Regions from separate parts of the Homo sapiens genome. Here regions 1 and 3 are each linked to region 2. The links are contacts of gene promoters, found by promoter capture Hi-C in human tissues and cell types (Jung and others, 2019). All regions are on one chromosome and are shown on one strand. Each heading gives the region's core, a stretch centred on a gene start or on the middle of the fragment in contact. The rest is flanking DNA. Distances are from core to core; before and after follow the strand shown.

The links. Contacts are between HindIII fragments. The study calls those that stand out against the background at their distance.
Region 1: a contact is called between a fragment that was not itself captured here and the fragment with the promoter of STK38 in region 2, in 1 of the 25 tissues and cell types used here (mesenchymal stem cells).
Region 3: a contact is called between a fragment that was not itself captured here and the fragment with the promoter of STK38 in region 2, in 1 of the 25 tissues and cell types used here (IMR-90 fibroblasts).

What each region holds. Positions count from the first base shown.
Region 1 is chr6:36,811,094-36,813,956 of GRCh38, reverse strand. All of the region lies in intron 3 of CPNE5 (copine 5), which reads left to right. Among named protein-coding and RNA genes, the nearest start is that of CPNE5, 27 kb to the left of the region's middle. RefSeq lists a silencer at 2,765-2,863. The HindIII fragment of the contact is 3,236 bases long and covers 1-2,863 here.
Region 2 is chr6:36,546,035-36,548,904 of GRCh38, reverse strand. It overlaps STK38 (serine/threonine kinase 38), which reads left to right and starts at 1,426. Exons shown (of 14, transcript NM_007271.4): 1 at 1,426-1,715. RefSeq lists a silencer at 1,281-1,620 and an enhancer at 1,368-1,891. The HindIII fragment of the contact is 5,084 bases long and covers 1-2,870 here.
Region 3 is chr6:36,191,349-36,194,482 of GRCh38, reverse strand. The region is part of intron 1 of BRPF3-AS1 (BRPF3 antisense RNA 1); the gene reads left to right. Among named protein-coding and RNA genes, the nearest start is that of BRPF3, 3.8 kb to the left of the region's middle. The HindIII fragment of the contact is 4,910 bases long and covers 1-3,134 here.

The sequences.
Region 1 (2,863 bases), core at 81-2,580, 270 kb before region 2:
GTGGGTAGACTAACTAAGGTAATGCTTATGAAAATGCCTGGAAATATTAACCGCAATCTACCATTGACCTGGGCACTCCATCACAGTGGGAGAGGCCGCCCTTGGAGATCCTGTGAACCAAGCCAAACTTGGTGGCACTGGAGCTGAGTCTTGAGTGGTGCCATGCATCATTCTGGGGGGCAGGGTGTTGCAGGTGGAGGGAACAGCAAGTGCAAAGGCCCTGAGGTGGGAACAAGCTTACTGTATTTCAAGGACAAAAAGAAGGCTGGTGTAGTTTGAGTGGTGTGAACAATTAAGAAAGTGGACAATACGGTCACAGAGGTCATCAGGTTCAGATCCTGTAGGGCTTCAGAGGCCATATAAAGAGTTCTGATACTGATCTAAGTGTGATGCTAAGCTACTTGAGGGTTTTATTTTGTTTTGTTTGAGATGGAGTCTTGCTCCATTGCCCAGGCTGGAGTGCAATGGCTCGATCTCAGCTCACTGAAACCTCTGCCTCCCGGGTTCAAGTGATTCTCCTGCCTCACCCTCCCAAGTAGCTGGGACTACAGGCATGCGCCACCATGCCTGGCTAATTTTTGTATTTTTAGTAGAGGCAGAGTTTCACCATGTTGAGCAGGCTGGTCTTGAACTCCTGACCTCAGGTGATCCTCCCTCCTAAACCTCCCAAAATGCTGGGATTACAGGCGTGGGCCACCACACCTGGCCTATTTAAGGGTTTTAAGCAGGGGAGTGATGCAACCTGGTTTATGTTTCAGAAAGACAGCCCTGGCCACTGTGTGCAGAGTGGACTGCAGGGGAAAGGGCAGAAGCAGGAAGATAATTTGCAGTCTTGTGGAGGTTTTGGAATAAGACTGTGGTGGGCATGAACACAGGGGATCCAGTTCGTTCAATGCCAAGAGTTTAAATCTGAAAAGAAATAACCCTCTGCCTGCCTGGCCTTGAGCCCAATTTAGGATCCCTGGTGACCTGGCCTTGGTCATTCCACATAGACCATTATCTAAAGATACAAAGGAATGAGTGGACCATCAGCATTGCTAAGGCACAAAGCGGAAGGCAGGCCTCTCTAAGAGGTGGACTCCAAGGCAAGCTTGGGGTAGGCTTTCTGGACTCTCTCCTTTTTGCAGAGAAGTCTGCCTCTGCAAAGAGAGGTCCCTCCTGAGCCTTAGGTCACTTGGAAAGCCTTTAGTGGCCTTTGCTCTTGTCATGCAGCTGAATTTTCAGGGCTCTGACTCCCCGTGATCAGGGTTAGGCAGTCCAGGACCAAAGCTTTACTTTAGGGACTAGATGGGTCTATGGCCACCTACTCACAGTCTTAGGGTCAGGGCTTTAAAACCTGCTTTGACACAGTGAGGTGCTGTCTGGGATGTCCCTTTGAATCCTGACTTTGCCACTTTCCTTAACCTCTCTCTGAGCCTTAGTTTTTTTCATCAATAAAATGGGTTCCCAATGCCTGCTTAGTGGACTGTGGTAGGGACCACATGGCAGAATCACTTAGCAGTGCCTGCCTGTGCTCAGGACCTGTAAATATTCTTTTTATTATTAAACAGTACCATCAGGCAAGCTGTAAAGAGGCTCTATCCCTTTCCTTCCCCTCCTTAAATAAGAGGGTGACTGATATGCCTTCTACCCTGTACAGTCTCCACATCAGCAGCACCCCATTATCTCCCTTGGCCCTCACCACACCCAGATGAGGAAGCAGAGCTCAGAGGGATCCTGGCTTTGCCCAGCAACACAGCTAGGAAGTGGCAGAGCTGGGATGTGAATGTGGTTTTCCGAGTCGGAGTCCCTGGTCTTCTCCTCTGCCCAGGCCACTGACTTTCAAAGTGGGCTTTTCTTGTTTGTTTGTTTTTGAGACGGAGTCTCACTCTGTCGCCCAGGCTGGAGTGTGGTGACACAATCTCGGCTCACTGCAACCTCCACCTCCTGGGTCCAAGCAATTCTCCTGCCTCAGCCTCCCGAGTAACTAGGATTACAGGCATATGCCACCACCCCCAGCTAATTTTTGTATTTTTCGTAGAGATGGGGTTTCACCATGTTGGCCAGGCTGGTCTCAAATTCCTGAGCTCAGGAGATCCGCCCACCTCGGCCTCCCAAAGTGCTGGGATTACAGTCATGAGCCACTGCGCCCAGCCCAAAGTGTGCTTTTCTATCCCCAGGATTTGAGGGTGGCAGCTCCAGGATCCACCGTGAATATGTGTGTAGCCCCTGCCTCCCTTTCCTCCTTCAAGCAGAGGTGTTCATTATTTCTGTGTAATACATTAGACATGAGCCTGAGATTTCATTTGAAGAAAGGAGTTGGCTTTTCTAATAAACCCTGAGTTCTAGGCCAGGTCCCCTGGTGGCTGATAGATCTATTTGCTTTTCAGTGTTAGTGTCCAGGTGCACTCTACAGTTGTGGCTGAGCTGTTGAAAGTGTGCACTCCAAAGTCAAGTTTAAAAATGGGCCCACCACCTGCCCAGGTGGGGGATCTTGGCCAAGCACTTAGGCTCACAAGCCTACTGTGAGGAGTAAATAAGCTAATTCGTGTAAAGTGCCTGGCCTGCAGAAAAAGCTCAATAATGGCTCTTCTTATAAGAAGCCCTAAGTAAGAAACCAATGCTTTATCTGGAGGAAGGAACCATTGACAGTATCATTTCAGACATCGTGATGCCATTTGGCAGGAGCTATCGATGTTTTGGAGTGAGCTGGGGGACAAGTCCCAGGGCCCCCTCCATGATGCTTGGCTTCCTTTAGGGTGGGGACTGCTCAGGCCCCCCACCCTCTACAGTCAGACCCGGGGCTAGAAGGCTGGGGGTGGGGACAAGGTGGTGGAGAGTGTTTTGTTGGCAGCTTGGCAGCCAGGCTCATTGGTAAAGGGTC
Region 2 (2,870 bases), core at 177-2,676:
TAAGTATCAATTACTTCATCTGCAAAACCTCGTGTGTCACTGCCAAAGTGAGGACCAAGTGAGATTAAATAAGTGAAAGTTGTTTGTAAACTGTAAAGCATTATGCAGACATCTTGGACTATTATTAAAAGCTTAAGAATGGGTAGGACTTTGACAACAGGCATTTGGGGAGAAGGGCCTCTGGGCAGAGAGAATGAAAGGCGAAGTGATTGATTGATATGTATGTAGTGACTGATTGAGACAGGGTCTCCCTCCGTTGCCCAGGCTGGGGTGCAGTGTCATGATCATGGCTCATAGCAGCCCTGAACTCCTGGACTCAATCAATCCTCCTGCTTCAGCCTCCACAGTAGGTGGGACCACAGGCACTTGCCACCATGCTGGCCAATTACAAAAATTTTTTTAGAGGTGGATTCTCCTTATGTTGCCCAGACTGGTCTCAAACTCCTAGGCTCAAGCTATCCTCCCACCTGGACCTCCCAAAGTGCTGGAATTACAGGCAGGAGCCACCGCGCCTGGCGAGAAGTGATTTTTGTTAAGAGGCTAGACAAAAGGAAACTGGGCTTTGAAGATGAAATGAATGAATAACTCGCAGCACATGCTTCCTTCTCTCCCTAGATGGCCCCTTTGCAGGCAGTCAGGGACCATGTCTCGTTCATCTTAGTTTCCAGGAGCTTGACACTTTGTAGTTGAGGGCTTTGTGCTCCATTCTCAAGAAACGACAAGTGCCCAAAGGCTATTAAACTTGGGACCTCTTTACCCCCAAAAGTAGTACAGAATAAGAGTTGGGTGGCCTTGAAAAGCACCTTCTTCTGTCCACACTGGGTCGCCCGCTGGGTAACCTCCCAAACCTATGAGAGCTCACCTTATCCCAGGTAAGGTCCTTACTTTAAGGAAGAGGAGGGGGGCCAAGGGCTCCAGCAGACCTGTTCTACACGGGGTAGGGGGGTGGGTGGGAACTATACAGGTGACAACATTTCATAGAACTACACACACACTCACACACACGCACATGACTGCATACCCAACAGGTTAAATCCGAGTGTGGTCTGTAATGAAGTTAATTGTATTGGTTTAGTTAATTGTATTGGTTTAGTTAATTGTATTGTGCGAATGTCAATTTCCTGGCTTTGAGAATGTTGTATCTTAAGAAAAATGTTGAGGTAAGCTGGGTGGGTGATGGTATAGGGAACCTGTATGTATTAATTTTGCAACTTCTTGTGAGTCCATAATTATTTCGAAGTAAAAAGTAAAACAAAAGAAAACAATGGAACTTCCCCCTCAGCCCAGCCTACTTCGAGACCGCCTCACACTCACACATCTGGCCTCACCCAGGTCCAGCCAGCCCTAGGCAGGGGGTGAAGGGAGGGGCAGGGCGGGGCCACGCAAGCGCAGTTCCGCAATCCCGGCCGCTCCGGGAAGTCGCGCATGCGTAGTCTCGGCCCCGGGCTGCCGCGCCAGCCCGTCTCCGCGGCGGGGGACCGGGCTGCCTTGGCCCCTCAGCGCTCGCGTCTTTTCCGGCAGTTGGAACGCTTCCTGTTGTCCTCACCCGTAACCGCCTGTTGCCCCCTGTCTCAGAGTCCCTCACGCGTCCCCTCCCGTCTTTGGCTCGTTGGCTGCCGCCGCCGGGGCTTCGCCAGCCTTCAAGTCGAGACTACTGGCCGAAGGGGCGTCTGCGGCTCTCCGCCGTCCCCAGCCCTGCCTCTCCCTGGGCTCTGGTGAGTTGCTTGCTGCCGCCGTCTTCACTCCATCCCGGGGTTTTTCCTTTATCTCCTCCTTCCCCAACCTCCGACTCCTTCTTGGGCTTTCTCCTGCTCGCCGGCGCCCTCTTTCAAGCCCTAACCTCTCAGCCTCTTGGCCTCTCTCCGCCCCTCTCCTTAACCCCCTTCTTCCCCCGTCTCCAGATGCCCCTTGTTGGCCCTCTCCACATTTTTCCAGTCCCAGCCTTTCCACCCCATCCTTTATCTTTCTCCTTTTGCAGTTGGAGCGGGAGCCAGGCTTTCCTTTCCATGTTGCCACCTTTGTCTGCTCCCTGCCACCAGTCAGTCCCTCAGGGATCTCGGTCATCACCGGTTTTTATCTCCTTTTCCTTCTTCTGGGGTCTGTGAACTGTGGTCTGAGGCAGAGATGTCGAAAGCCCCCCTTGGGGTGTGGTATCTTTGAGTCGGCTCCTTTCTCCGTTAGTCTTAGGATACTGGGCTTCAGATAAGCTTCAAATCACAGGAAAAGGCAGGGAAAATTCTTAAGAAGAGAGTGGAAAAGCAACAGCCAGAGGAAAAAGTCGGTAAGGGCTTAGAGGAAAGTCTGTGTCAGAAAGCGGGCAGAACGGCCGGCAGAGAGACCAGATCTCTCAGTTCATTCTGAAACGACTAAAAGACTCGGAGAGAAACTTGTTCTGTTTGAAATGCACCGAGGAGGGTTGGAGTGAAGTAGACCCTGAGTGTCTCCACCCTTTGAGCTCACCCTGCCTCTGAATTAGCCAGGCAATATATTTGGTTTCCCTAAACATAAAACAACCACCACCTCGATAACAGGCTCTCCTCCCCACCCTAAACGTTAGATACCAGCTTCCTCCTAAGAGGAGAGAACGCTATAGCAAACCATTTCATGTCCCAGCCCTATCCCCCATCACACATAAACTCCTAGGAATGGACATCAAAAATGAGTATATTTCCTAGTTAATCTTTCTTAAGGTGCTAAGTGCATAGCACTGTGCATGAAATGGGGGAAGAATATTAAAACAAGTATAAGACATGGTGCTTGCTTTCTAGTGTAGGTAGAGATTACAGTTTAGTAGGATTTACAGTTCAGTGGGAGAGATTAGACATGCGACTTAAGCAATAATCTTAGCTCCAATGTTGAATCGTCCAAAT
Region 3 (3,134 bases), core at 406-2,905, 350 kb after region 2:
TCCAAATAGTTGTTTTTAAGAACCTTCCAGCTGTAAGTAGAAACCAACTTATTTGGGATAGGAGAAGGTTTTACCATTTAAAACTAAAAGAAACATGAATACAAAAAAAAATCACCATTTCCCCACCTCTTTCTTTCATACTTCCCCATCATACTTTTTTTCAGCATCTCAGGATATCTTTGTTAATGCTTCACTATTGTCATTAGTTTATCAGGCCAAGAAACCTCTCAGGGGTCAGACGCAGTACCCACTGGATTAATAACGTGGATGATAAGGAAAAAAATAGGCCTTGATTGATTGTTAAATTATTTTTAATAGAATATTCCTTCCTTAGATACTTGACTAAAAGAATTCTGAAACCACAGTTGGGAGGAATGTTTGAGGTTGGAATCATTGTGATACTTTTTTTTTTTTTTTTTTTTTTTTTGAGACGGAGTCTTGCTCTGTCGCCCAGGCTGGAGTGCAGTGGCGGGATCTCGGCTCACTGCAAGCTCCGCCTCCCGGGTTCAAGCCATTCTCCTGCCTCAGCCTCCCAAGTAGCTGGGACTACAGGCGCCCGCCACTACGCCCAGCTAATTTTTTGTATTTTTAGTAGAGACGGGGTTTCACCGTTTTAGCCGGGATGGTCTCGATCTCCTGACCTCGTGATCCGCCCGCCTCGGCCTCCCAAAGTGCTGGGATTACAGGCGTGAGCCACCGCGCCCGGCCGATACTTTTACACTAATTAAAATGGTTTAAGAATGTAAAGTTTGCTTGGAAAATGGGAAAAGTTTAGCTAGGTTAACAACAGGTCTTAAATAGAGTAACATACCACACTCTCTAGATTTAATTCCATTTATGTATTTCTAAAACGTATTCATTGACCACTTAGAGTGTGTCTAATACTGCACAAGTTCTTTGGAAAATAATGACAAAATCTCAACCTAGAAAGGGACTAATGATCATAAGTATAGATAGAATATATTTTTTCTTGCCTTGAGTAGTGTGCAATCCAGAATGGTAGAAATAAGTAGAAAACACATACAAGAAAAAATAGATAAGGCAGTGAAGAGTATGGAGCCACCATTATTCAAAGAAGGCTTCTTGGAGAATGGGAGACTTCTTTAAGCCAAGTTCTAAATCATGATGGATGTGAACTGGTGAAAAGAGTGTAAAGTGACATTGGGTTGGTGACAGGACAGTCCAGGCAAAGGGAAAATATGCAGGGAATAATGCGGAAATTATCCTAGCTGGTATGTATGGGCAGATGATAAGAAAAAGATTGAATTGGGTAGGAGGTATGGCAAGGGGACAGGGATAATAAAAATAATACCTAACACTTATGTACAAGGTACTGTGCTTAGTGCTTTATATACTCCATTTATTAAAGATCTTTGTTGCAGTTAGCAGAAAACCAACTTAAGTGAGTTTAATAAAGGAAATAAACTCTCATAACCAGAAAGTCCAGGGGTGCATCTAGCTATAGACAAGATCGAGTCAAAGGACTCGAATTATGTCATCAGCATACTGTATCTTGCAATTTCTCAGCCATCCTGAGCCAATAACTGTGGCCAGAGGGACATGCTGCTTGTCATGTATCAACTCCTAAAACCAGAGGACATGAGCAGGAGAAGATTGTACAATGGGGTAGTAGGTACATGTACAAACTAGGTCCAATATGCACACCATATCTTATTTATCAACTTACTAACTCTATAAAATGTTACTGTTATCCTCTTTATGTATTGGAGAAAGTAGAACAGGAGATCCGGTAAACCTGGAAGAGTTTACTATAGGTAATTAGGCATTATGAAAATAAAAAGGCATTAAGCAGAATGATGGAAAATGTGTTAGAGAAAGAGGAAAAGGAAAGGTCAAATCAGAAATCAGATGACAAAGCAACTGTTTTGTCTGATTGGACATAAGAACAAAGGAGAAGATTGAAGAAGAATCTAAGTTCAAACTTTGTAGGTTCTCACAGTTTGGTACAATCATTGCAAATTAAGAGGTGGCAAAGGGTTGCTCGGGAGCTCCTATTGGAGGTGGGAACCTGAGGATTGAAGAAATGATGAAATCAGCTCAAGTTCTCTGGAACCTCTTTTGGTCACACTGAAATACATATTTATTCAATTACTATTTGTGAGCTGCTGGTAAGGTTCTATTTTATGGCTGTAAAGGCCACAAAGGTGAAAAGAGTATGCTTGCAGACTTGAAGGCATTTAGATTCTAATCACAGTATAAAGCAAGGGTATTTATAACTGGAACGTGCTACAATATAAGCACTTCAAGAGAGATGCAAACGAAGTGCCAAAGTTTGGAGGAGGGAGTGAGCTCGTCTGTTTAGGAGAAGAGGGAAGGCTCTGTGAAGAAAGTGCTATCTGAGCTCTACCTGAAAGCTCTCAGGTAGGTGTGTCAGCTAGAAAGATGGTAGAGGGAGTGTGGTCCAGGCTGAGCCACCCGCATGAGCAAAGAGGAAGAACGTATCAAAGAATAAAATTTCAACAAATGAGTCCCAAAGATCCAATTGGCTTTATTAGCTGTTTATGAACTGGGCAACATCCAGTCTACAAAATAGAAAGGAGTTCCTATGAGCTAAACAAGTAGGTGAGTTTTATAGGCAGAAAGAAGTGAAATAAATCAGGAACAATGAGCAAATAGCAGATTGGTCTTTTCAAGATTATTTTTCTTTATAGGAATGTAAATGAAATCTTGTTGGTTTAATGGGATTTGACTATCATCTCTCTCCTGATTTCTTGAAGAGTCAGATCTTACAGTAAAATACAGGTTTTGGTTTGGTGTCATGGAACCTCTCAGCATGAATGACTCCATTTGGGGTCTGCTGTCTTTTCTTTAACACATGGAATGCCATAAGATTGTTTCAGGAAACAGTGGGTTACCCATTGACCCAAAAATGAGGGATATGAGAGAGAAGGCTGGTAAGGTAAAGTCAGAGCATGGAGACTGTTGGTTGGGTAGGGAGCTAGACATGAAGGGGCAGGAGACCCTGATGATTTTTGGAACAGGGAAATGACTTCAATAGTTCCATGCTTTAAGTTCTAGTCAGGCAAGAGAGTGTGATACGGTATGGTTTAAATTAGCTATCCAGTGTGGCTTGCATTATCTTCTGAACTTGAATTCTAGCTAGAACATTTTAC